Linked DNA regions of Homo sapiens: all the other regions are linked to region 2. Evidence: promoter capture Hi-C in 16 types of primary human blood cells and fetal thymus (Javierre and others, 2016). All regions are on one chromosome and are shown on one strand. Each heading gives the region's core, a stretch centred on a gene start or on the middle of the fragment in contact. The rest is flanking DNA. Distances are from core to core; before and after follow the strand shown. Region 1 has its middle 5.7 kb from the start of LRRC58. Region 2 holds the start of B4GALT4 (beta-1,4-galactosyltransferase 4). Region 3 holds the start of NDUFB4 (NADH:ubiquinone oxidoreductase subunit B4).

Region 1 (3,646 bases), core at 221-2,720, 1.1 Mb after region 2:
AATGCATGAATAGTTTTTGACATACCTTACTTAAATAGGCCCTATTGACCTACTGACTGCAGAAAAAACAAGAAATAATCTAAGTAGAGAATCCTTTCATAAACCATTCTAGTTAGGAGGCAGCATACTGATGCAGTTAAAAGAGTGGGCTTTGGTTTTTATCAGATACAGGTTTCAAAACCCACCTCTGGAAATCAGATTTCTCTTACTTAATCTTGATTTTGTTACTTAATTTCTGTAAGGCTTGATTTCATCATCTGTATTATAAAATATATTATCTGTTCCATAGGGTCATTGTAAGGTGAAAATCTAAAGTGCTTAGCATAGTACCTAGCACAAAGTCAATACTCTGTAAGTAGTGGCAATTATTATTATTAGCTGTAATAGTAGTTAATGTTATAACTATTGCTCTCTGCCACTTGTTATATCATGATCAGGGTAGAAAAACAAAGTTGAGAACAGTCTTTACTCATGATTGCACAATTTCCTACATAAACCATGGTCCTCTGCTCTGGGCCATTCTGTGTCTTAGGGATTAGGATTTGGGAGGTTGGTCTGACCTCTCTTGCCCAAGATTTATGCTTATTGTCTTTTTTGTCTTCAAGGTATATCAGGACCTCATGCCTGCTAAACCCACTCCTACCTTTATTTTAGCCACCTCTGATTCAGACTGTCCTTTCTAAAGCACTGCTTTCATGATTTCAACCCATCTCTTTTCCTCCTGCCTTTACCCCATGTTTCCTCATTGCTTATCAGATGAAGGCCAGTTGCTTAGGCTAGCATGCAAGGTTTTGATTTATTTCCACTGCTAAATCCCTCTCAGTCTGGTTTATCCATATTGGCCTAGGATGGTTTAAAGTTCTGCCATCTCCCTGCCAATTGTCCAAATCTCAAAAACCGGTTACTCTATGTTTAGGGCAGCATTGAAAGTAGAAGGAGCTATAGTCTTTCAATCGATCCTGAGGAGGAGTTGGCTTCTATATTTATAGGGACCAAGAGTAAGTCTTCAGCCAGTTTTGTGATATAAGGTCTAGCAGTTTGATTTTCAGCAGTTCTTCCTCTGCCACAGTTTGCTATTGCTGTAGAATTGATAGATTAAAATGTCTCCTGAAATATGTCTCCGGGCTTCTTTATCGAAGTTTAGTCCCTTTTATTTTGAAGATTCAAATAATGACATCTTTGGATATCTTTGGAGTCTTTGACTAAGCATTTGTTAGAGCTATAAAAGCATCTTCATGGCTACTCCCGTTGAATTCACTCCATTTAGGGGTTTATCTTAGACCCGGTGCGGTGTTTTCCTTATTGATTGTTTTGGGAGTTGAAGTGACTATCTTTTAAATTTTATCCACTTGCTCAGCTTATGTTGGTTCCATATTGGCTTGTTTGACCTTTTCATAGATAGCTAGTCATAACTACAACTATAAATGAGCTAAAATAATTTTAATCCCTAATTCATTCACAGATAGACATTGAGTACCTACTGTGTGTAAGAAACTGTACTATATATTGCAAGGTATAAAAACTAGTAAGAATAATAGGTAATGTTTATTGGTTATTTTATAAGTGCCAGGCACTGTCCTAGGGGCTCTGTCTAGGGATTATTTTTATTTAATCCTCACATCCCTTCTATAAGGTACATATTATTATCATCATTCTTCAGACAAGAAAACCGAGATGTGGGAAAATTAACTAACTTGCCAAGTCACATATTTATGGTGTGCTGGATAACAACATAGTAAAATGTTCATGATTTTGTTCAAATACAATCACTGCCTTCAAGAGATTTACTGTCTGGTAACAGAGATTAAACATGAACCTATAAAGAAATCCAAGTTAAAAAGGGCAAAAGATCTGAGTAGACATTTCTCCAAAAAAGATATAAAAATCACTGATAAACACATGAAAAGGTGATCAACATCATTAGCCATCAGGGAAATACAAATTAAAATCACAGTGAGCTACTACTCATACCCACTAAGATGGCTAAAATATAAAAGACAGCTAGTAAGTGATGGTGCAGATGTAGAGAAATTGGAACCCTTATAGACCAATACTGGGGATGAAAAAGTGGTGCAGCCACTTTGGAAAATAGTCTGGCTGTTCTTCAAAAGGTTAAAAAAAATAGTTACCATATGATCCAGCAGTTCTACTCCCAGGTATATACCCAACAGAAATGAAAACATACGTCGTCACAAAAACTTACACATGAGTGTTCATAACAGCATTTTTCATCATAGTCAAAAAATAGAATCAAACCAAATCTCTACCAACTGATGAAGGATAAATAAAATGTGGTATTTACATACAATAGAACATTATTCAGCAACAAAAAGAAATGAAGTGCTGATACATGTTACAACATGGATGAATCTTGGAAACATTATTCTGACACATAAGTGAAAGAAACCAGTCATAAAAGAACACCTACTGTATGATTCTATTTATATGAAATCCTCCAAAATAGGCAAATCTTTAGAGACAGAAAGTAGATTAGTGGTTGCCGAGAGCTAGAGGGAAGGGAGAATGGGCAGTGGTTGCTAATGAGTACAGGGTTTCTTTTTGGCAGGATGAAATTGTTCTAAAATTCATTGTGGTGATGGTTGTACAACTATGAATATACTACTAAAAAATCATTGAACTGTACACTTTAAGTAAGTAAATTGTATGATAGGAAAATATATGAAGTATATATCAATAAAGTTATTTTTAAAAACATGAACCCAAAGTAACTAAAATATAAAATAACATTTGGTAACTCATACAGAAACATAACCAAAAGCTATCAAAGTTCAGAGGAAAAAGACCATTTAGGCTACCACAGTTAGGATAGCTTTCAGAGGACAATGGGATTTGGATAGAGCTGGGATGAAATATACAAAATTGAAGGAAAAAAGAAAATATTTCTTACAAAGCATAGCAAAAAGGAGAAAATTATAGCATATATTTGGGAAATGGTAAGGGGTCTGGTTTGGTTGGCATGCTTAGTGCTGATGGTTAGAATAGACAAATATTGATATGCTTTAGATAATTATGGGAGAAAATATTTAAAATTTTAACTTTGCCCCCAAAAATCTAAGGTGTACTGTTAAGATACAGCACAGAGGAAGAGTAGTAGACTTTGAAATGATAGGTGTGTCTAGGCCTTGGAGAAAGAGGTATGAATACTAGGTAGGAGATCACCTCTGATTCTGCCCTCACTGGAAGCTCCAGATCCCATTTCCTTAACTTGTGTTCTTTATTAGCCTTGCAGTCTTTTCACGAAGACTGCAAGGCTTGGGAGAGTCTGTGGATTGTGGCACCTGTAGAAATAGTCTTATATCTGAGTACAAAGTATTCCTCATGGTTTCTCAATACTGTGCTAGCATCAAGATATTCCTCCTCTGCTTCAGGTGAAAGTCAAATGTAAGTCAAGCCTCAGCCCCCATAGTATGAATTCGAGAAGTGACACAAACTGGTCATAATTATTTCATTCCGTTATATTCCAGTTGTTTTCTTGAGAAAACCAAAACAAAACCAGGGCTAAACAACAAATCCAAAACAAAAATTCTTCAATACGTTGTGTTAATGGATATAGCTTTATTTTGAAACTGCATAGTTGTTTCCTTCACTCAGCCACTAAAAGTGATTTGAGAAACTGAGAGGACCT
Region 2 (3,611 bases), core at 1-2,500:
TCTATCCACTTCCCCTTAGATTATGTAGTCAAACAGTTCAATCCAGGTCAGTACTTTTTCACAACGTATGTTTTCAATCTGATCAAAGCTATAGGTAGACGAAAGTTATTGCAATTTCATGGGGTTTACAATTTCCATAAAGAACAAACCTGCTCTAGAAGACAAAATTCCAAAAACTTCTGAACTATATCCAATCAAGCATTATCTCCTCTCCCAAGAGAGACCTTCCAGCACTCCCCGCCTGGGTCTCGGGAATAGCCCTCCCTTCTGAATCCCAGTTTCTCAATCCGGACCCTGAATCCTATTCATCCTGATCTCTCCTTGATTTTCTTGCATCTTAAAGGTGTTATTTTCCTTTCTTTAAAAATTTAAAAAAAAAAAAAAAAGCCACAACTCGCCTCCACGCTCAGATTACCATTTTCTTTTTCCTCCTTTTCATCACCAAACGGCTGAGGAGGTCTACCAGTACCCTCACCACCGCCACGTCCCCATCCCTCACCCACTCTGGAACACTTTGCAACAGTGTGCACACCCACCCACTGTTGATAACTACTCTCCTAAGGCTACCAACCCATAGGCCTCTCCTCGATGCAGAGTCCTTTGGACTTTGTCTGTTTTTTTTCAAACCAAGAATTAACAGCCCTTATCTAATGGAAGACAGAACATCAAGGGATACAGATCAACAAACACTGGATGGCTGTCTCCGAAGTCTTTTATAATCCAGGTGACCAACCCCTTTGGAGAAAGGTCAAAGGTCGCCGGCCCCTCGCAGGACTGGGGCTGGTGTCAGCTGATCAGTTTCCCCGTTGAAACGCTGGAGAAGGAGGGTTTCCAGGAAGAAGGGGCTTTTTCAGGTTGATGCACCCGGCGGAGAAGTGCTGGGGGCGACCCCGGAATCGTGACCTGGGGTATGAATGAGCCCTGGATTTTTTCCTACCCGGCAGCACCTCGTCTGGCTCCCCCGGCCCGCAGCAGAGGCGGCGCCGCGCGGAACGCCAGCACCTGAGCCGGTGCCTCCCGCCAGGCTCGGCCTCCGTAGGCCCCCGGCCCGGCCCACCGCTCCGGCTGAGGCGGGACTGCCCCACGGACGCCGCCACGTCATCCCCACGCCCGCCCCGCTACAGCCCTGGGACTGACCCCGGCCGTCGCCCGGCTACCCTCGCACGGCGCCCGTGTCCAGGGAACTGCATTTCCCGGGCGCCGGCGGAGCCAGCGTACTCACCCCGGAGGCGGCCGCGGCGAGCTAGCACTGCCCGCGGAGAGGGGAGAACGCGGAAAGCAGCTCGGGGACCGCCCCAGCCGCCCGGGAGGCGGCTCTTGAGTACGAGCTCCGCCTCCCGCCTTGGCCGGAGAGGCTGGTCCGCCCGGCTCTGCACGCGCCTGGCGCTCCACCCCCGCCAAATCGACCACACCGGGCGCTGGAAGGAGCACCGGGAGGGAAACGGAGGGTTGACGCCTCGGCCTCTGGGTGGCTTTAAAACCCTGTGCCAATAGTAGACTGGGTGCTGAGCGCTTCCCAAATTCCATCCCCTTAAATACTCACAAAGCAGTAGGAAAGAGATAGGGACCCTTCCATTTTACAGAGTGGGAAACTGAGACTTTAGAGAGGCTAATAAACTTAATCACCCTGCGAGATTTCAGCCCTCTCAACTGCAAAAATGATAATAATAATAATAATATTTTTCCCATGTTGCAGGTCTGAGAATATTAAATGATTTTTTTAAATCCGTATTTCTTCAAAGATATTATTACAGAAAGCAAAGACAATTATATTTACACTAAAGATTTGAGTGAAAAATTATGGTAGGCTCTGTTTAGGCAGTCAGGATAGCTAGATTCTCTAATGCAGTCTCCCACTGCACTCACGGGAAAGTAGTAGATTCTCCAAGAACCACACATCCACTCCACCCAAAAAGGAACAAACCATAGCTAGAGCCAGTGCTGGGCTCATTAAGCTTCATAGCAGGAAATCTGAGGCTATACTGAGGCCGCATAGGCCCAATGTAGGCCCTTGGAAGCTGGAAAAGAGGGCCACCTAGTGGCAGTTGAGGATAGGTCAGTGAAATAGGTCAACACTGCTCCTGAACAAGGTCCAGTGTGAAACTTATTTTTTTGTGTTCCCTTTGTAACATGCTGTAAGGGTGTATAACCACATTTAGTGAAAAAGGACATTACTGGATTTCATCCAGTGGCGTTATACAATCAGTTACTTATACCCACATAGTCCCCAGGTCTTGAGCATATGATGCCTGGAAGCATAATATATACCTTTTGCAAGAATCACTCAGCTTTTCCCCTCCCCCTCCCCCTCTCTGTCTCCCTCCCCATCTCCCTCCCCCCTTTGCACGGTCCTCGTCTCCCCTTTGCATGGTCTCCCTCTGATGCCGAGCCGAGGCTGGACTGTACTGCCGCCATCTCGGCTCACGGCAGCCTCCCTGCCTGATTCCCCTGCCTCAGCCTGCCGAGTGCCTGGGATTGCAGGCGCGCACCGCCACACCTGACTGGTTTTCGTATTTTTTGGTGGAGACGGGGTTTCGCCGAGTTGGCCGGGCTGGTCTCCAGCTCCTGACCGCGAGTGGTCTGCCAGCCTCGGCCTCCCGAGGTGCCGGGATTGCAGACGGAGTCTCGCTCACTCAGTGCTCAATGTTGCCCAGGCTGGAGTGCAGTGGCTTGATCTCGGATCGCTACAACCTCCACCTCCCAGCCGCCTGCCTTGGCCTCCCAAAGTGCCGAGATTGCAGCCTCTGCCCTGCTGCCACGCCGTATAGGAAGTGAGGAGCGTCTCTGCCTGGCCGCCCATCATCTGGGATGTGGGGAGCCCCTCTGCCCAGCCGCCCAGTCTGGAAAGTGAGGAGCGCTTCTTCCCGGCCGCCACCCCGTCTAGGAAGTGAGGAGCGTCTCTGCCTGGCCGCCCATCATCTGGGATGTGGGGAGCGCCTCTGCCCCACCACCCCGTCTGAGAGGTGAAGAATGCCTCTGCCCGGCGGCGACCCGTCTAGGAACTGAGGAGTGTCTCTGCCCCGCCGCCACCCCGTCTGGGAGGTGAGGAGCGTCTCTGACTGGCCGCCCTGTCTGAGAAGTGAGGAGCCCCTCCGCCGGGCAGCTGCCTGGTCCGGGAGGTGGGGGGCAGCCGCCCAGCCAGCCGCCCCGCCCGGGAGGTGGGGGGGCAGCCCCCGCCTGGCCAGCCGCCCCGCCCGGCAAGTGGGGGGCAGCCCCCGCCCGGCCAGCCGCCCCGTCCGGGAGGTGGGGGGCGCCTCTGCCCAGCCGCCGCCCCGTCTGGGAGGTGGGGGCCCCTCTGCCCGGCCGCCGCCCCGTCTGGGAGGTGGGGGGCCCCTCTGCCCGGCAGCCCCGTCTGGGAAGTGAGGAGCCCCTCTGCCCGGCCACCACCCTGTCTGGGAGGTGTACCCAACAGCTCATTGAGAACGGGCCATGATGACGATGGCGGTTTTGTCCAATAGAAAAGGGGGAAATGTGGGGAAAAGAAAGAGAGATCAGATTGTTATTGTGTCTGTGTAGAAAGAAGTTGACATAGGAGACTCCATTTTGTTCTGTACTAGGAAAAATTCTTCTGCCTTGGGATGCTGTTAATCTATAACCTTACCCCCAACCCC
Region 3 (3,880 bases), core at 539-3,038, 1.4 Mb after region 2:
TTGGACCAGATAACAAATGAAAAAGAGAAAAACAATGAGAACGATGTTGACATCAATACATCAAAGAGAAATAATCTGATTTCAAAGGATTAAGAGAGGTCTTTGGGAAAACTAGATAAACGCCTCCAAAACTTTTGCAAGTAAGACCCTGCAGCAAAAATCAAATGCACAGTGAAGGATAATGAGCCATATAAAAAATTATGTCCCTCCTCCAAAACAACATTTGAGTTACCAGAATTAGCACATACTTGCAGTTGTAACCTAACGTGTTAAATATAAGATAAATTCATTTTTATAAGTTTGGGTTGAATTTTTTTCAATATAAAGTTCAAATCAAGTCTTTTTCTTTCACTCTTTCACTATGGAATCTACATCTCTATCTTTAATGGATTCATTCTAAGAGGGCCTTTTCTGGTACCAATTATCTTTGGAAAAGAAAGACCTTTTGTACTCATCTCTGTTTTACAAGCATGTAATATATTTTAATACCACCACTCCCCCACTGGAAATTGTAAAAAATACAGACTCTTGGGTTCCTCTGCCATACCAATTTTGAATCTCCAGGTGGAGAACGGGAACTAGGAGTTAAAAAAAAATTCCATATTTTAATTTACTAATTATTTTTACTTCATTTTTTTTTTTAGAGGTGCAGTCTCACTATGTTGTCTAGGCTAGACTTAAACTCCTGGGATCAAGGGATCTTCCGGCCTCAGCCTCTCCAGTAGCTGGGACTACAGGTACATGCTACCACACCTGGCTAAACTCCCTTTTTTTTTAACACTCATCATAAGCAATCCTCGTGATAATCAGGCAAGTGTGGTAATAACTACTTTAACTCATCCAAAGCTTTCTTTATAGTAACCTTAAGAAATCTTCTTTAACCTAGTCAGCTGGTTTGAGGTAGGAGGTAGGACTCGGACACCGAACCAAATTGAGCACTAGCCTAAACAGGTCGGAGGTGGAAGCCGCTTTCCATCAGATACACACACCAGTGTGTCAGTTCATCATTGCCATGGCAACACCCAGGAGTTACCACCCCTTTCCAGGGCAATGACCTGATGACCCAAAAGTTGCTACCCCTTCCCTAGAAATGTCTGCATAAACTGCCTCTTTACTTTTTTGTCTGTTTGTTTGTTTGTTTGAGACGGAGTCTCGCTCTGTCGCCCAGGCTGGAGTGCAGTGGCGCGATCTCGGTTCACTGCAAGCTCCGCCTCCCTGGTTCACACCATTCTCCTGCCTCAGCCTCCCGAGTAGCTAGGACTACAGGCGCCCGCCACCACGCCCAGCTAATTTTTTTTTGTATTTTTAGTAGCGACGGGGTTTCACCGTGTAAGCCAGGATGGTCTTGATCGCCTGACCTCGTGATCCGCCCGCCTCGGCCTCCCAAAGTGCTGGGATTACAGGCGTGAGCCACCGCGCCCGGCCAAACTGCCAAATGTGGGTATAAATGTGACTCAAAGCTGGCCTGAGCTGGTGCTTTCTGCCTATGAGGTGGCCCTGCTCTACAGGAGCAGTCACGGTTGTGACACCACCAAAGCTGTAACACTGCCTCTTCAATAAAATTGTTTTCTTCTACCTCCGGGTTGCCCTTGAATTCTTTCCTGGGCAAAGCCAAGTTCCCTGGTTGCCTAAGCCCCACTTTGGGGCTCGCCTGCCCTGCATCAGTTCGTACTCGCTGGACTCATTCCTTTATCCTTTTATTCTTTTTACATGCTCTCCTTCCTAGATCAGTGTCTAATCTATACAGGTTTTGGAAACTTTATGTAGTCTTTAGAATTTTATAAACTGCTCTTGCTTTTCATATTGTATTATTTTCTTAGTATTTCAAAACACCTTTGAACAAGTCAGAATTTCCTTTTTTTTTCTCCTTTAAAATCGAGTCTGAGTAACTCGTCTTGTGTTCATTTTTTCTACATTCTCTCAGCCTGAATCCTCATGAGTCCATTTTGCTCTATATTCATCTGGACATTAGACTACTTTGAAATATTACCATTTCTGCCTATTCTTTCTGTACTGCCTGATTGTCAGCTCCCGAAAGGCAAACACCCCATCTTCCATTTTGTCTGGATTTCCCCCACTGAGCCTAGAAGATTGACTTAACACTGACTAGTGTGCTGTGTGCTTCACGCGGTGGGTGCTTAATAAATATTTTAAAACAGTATTAAAATGTTGAATAAATTTGACAGCAGTGCTGCTTCTCATCATTTCAAATGCCAACACTTTCTAGGTCCCTTTTCTAGCAACCATTTCCCAACATACCTACGCGCCCCCAGACGTTTCAGCCAAGCTGGGGCTCTCTTTTGATCCATCCTTCTTTGCCCGAGTTATGGAAATATTGTTTACATTTTTTCCCCTGAGGAGAAGGGGAACCCAAAGACCCTGCTGTGAAACTTGAAGTTGTTTTTCTCCTTGGTAACTGGGGAGAAGGAAGGACAGTAGGGACAGAGAAGGTTTTGTTTCTGATTACTTCAGTTTTCGCCCCAGATCGTCTTTTACAATAAGATACATGCCCCTATGAGTATTTTCATACCTGTAAGGATGTTTTTAATTCTTTGCATCTGAAGAGTGCTAAGGATTTTAGGCAAGAGGTTTTAGTATTTTAACTAAGATGTTTTCTCATGAGCTTTATTCAGTATCTCATTTTCTTCCTGACCTTCTATAGTCAGTCAGGCAACATTTCTCTTATAACATCATTTTTCCTATTAATCATTATTTCGTACCTGTGAAAAATAAGCTTACACTTAATGTTGTATGAATCTAGCATGGTAAAGTACAGAAAAGCTTATTCTCTTCTTCTTGGGTAGGGAATTCTGTTTTGCAAAGCACTTTGTGATCTATTTGTTAGCTTATTTAATCCTCACAACAACTTTGCTAGGTGGACAGGAGTCATTATCTCCAGGATAAGGAAAAGGAAACTCAGAGACTTTAAGTGACTTATCCAAGGTGACACAGCACGGTTAGACCCACAATGAAAACCCGGACTTCTGACTCCACAGCCAGTCCCACACAGCTCAACTTTACATAATAAGCCCTGGTTATGTCAGTAGAGACAAGGCTGCTAGGAAGAAGCAGCGCGGTGACAGATGAGTAGGTGGGGAGCGGCGGTGGGGCAGGGCGCACTGCGAGAAGAGCACTTCGCGCATGCGCATATCACCGAGCGAACGCGCCGTGTTCGGGAAGGTAGGAGAAAGAGGCGGAGCTCCTTGTTAACGACATCCCCAACCTCTGCTAACGCGCAGGCGCACTTCCTGAAGCTGAAGGTCAGCATAGACAAAGGGCCTCAGAATCGCGCAGGCGCAATTGTGCCCTGGTTCGCCAAGATGTCGTTCCCAAAGTATAAGCCGTCGAGCCTGCGCACTCTGCCTGAGACCCTCGACCCAGCCGAATACAACATATCTCCGGAAACCCGGCGGGCGCAAGCCGAGCGGTTGGCCATAAGAGCCCAGCTGAAACGAGAGTACCTGCTTCAGTACAACGATCCCAACCGCCGAGGGCTCATCGTGAGTGTGGGGCCTCCCAGGCGGGAATAGGGCCCGAGTCCTGGGAGAGACCGAGAGAGACCACGCAAAGGGTCGGCCACCGCTCCCGATCAGTATCTCAGACGCAGGTCCTCTTCCAGGCCTAGCCAACTCACTACCCTTTTACCTTTGCCAGAGCTTGGCCCTCGAGAGGACCGGCTCTGGACTCAGACCTGGCTGGGTTTGAATCCTGGCTTGATCACTTCCTGCCTGCGTGACCTTAAGAACGTTATTCACTCTGCTTATCCTCGATTTTCTGTCTGCAAAATGGGCGTAATATAGTGCTTACTCTTTTATCAGGCTGTTAGGATTAAATGAGATAGAGTATGTGACTGTCCTAGCACAGTGCCTCGTTCGTAAGG

Evidence for each region. Contacts are between HindIII fragments. The CHiCAGO score rates a contact against its expected background, and 5 or more counts as called.
Region 1: a contact is called between a fragment that was not itself captured here and the fragment with the promoter of B4GALT4 in region 2, in 2 of 17 cell types (total CD8 T cells and non-activated CD4 T cells). The highest score is 5.6, in total CD8 T cells.
Region 3: a fragment that was not itself captured here is called in contact with the fragment with the promoter of B4GALT4 in region 2 in 7 of 17 cell types (naive CD8 T cells, total B cells, non-activated CD4 T cells and 4 more); the score reaches 5.8 in naive CD8 T cells.

The regions. Positions count from the first base shown.
Region 1 is chr3:120,353,184-120,356,829 of GRCh38, forward strand. It overlaps the pseudogene BTNL12P. Among named protein-coding and RNA genes, the nearest start is that of LRRC58, 5.7 kb to the left of the region's middle. The HindIII fragment of the contact is 8,642 bases long and covers 1-3,646 here.
Region 2 is chr3:119,239,628-119,243,238 of GRCh38, forward strand. B4GALT4 (beta-1,4-galactosyltransferase 4) reads right to left here and starts at 1,251. Exons shown (of 8, transcript NM_003778.4): 1 at 1,223-1,251. The region is part of intron 3 of B4GALT4-AS1 (B4GALT4 antisense RNA 1); the gene reads left to right. RefSeq lists silencers at 938-1,417, 2,068-2,117. The HindIII fragment of the contact is 11,429 bases long and covers 1-1,953 here.
Region 3 is chr3:120,593,040-120,596,919 of GRCh38, forward strand. It overlaps NDUFB4 (NADH:ubiquinone oxidoreductase subunit B4), which reads left to right and starts at 3,297. Exons shown (of 3, transcript NM_004547.6): 1 at 3,297-3,500. The coding sequence starts at 3,321. RefSeq lists an enhancer at 3,368-3,707. The HindIII fragment of the contact is 1,888 bases long and covers 845-2,732 here.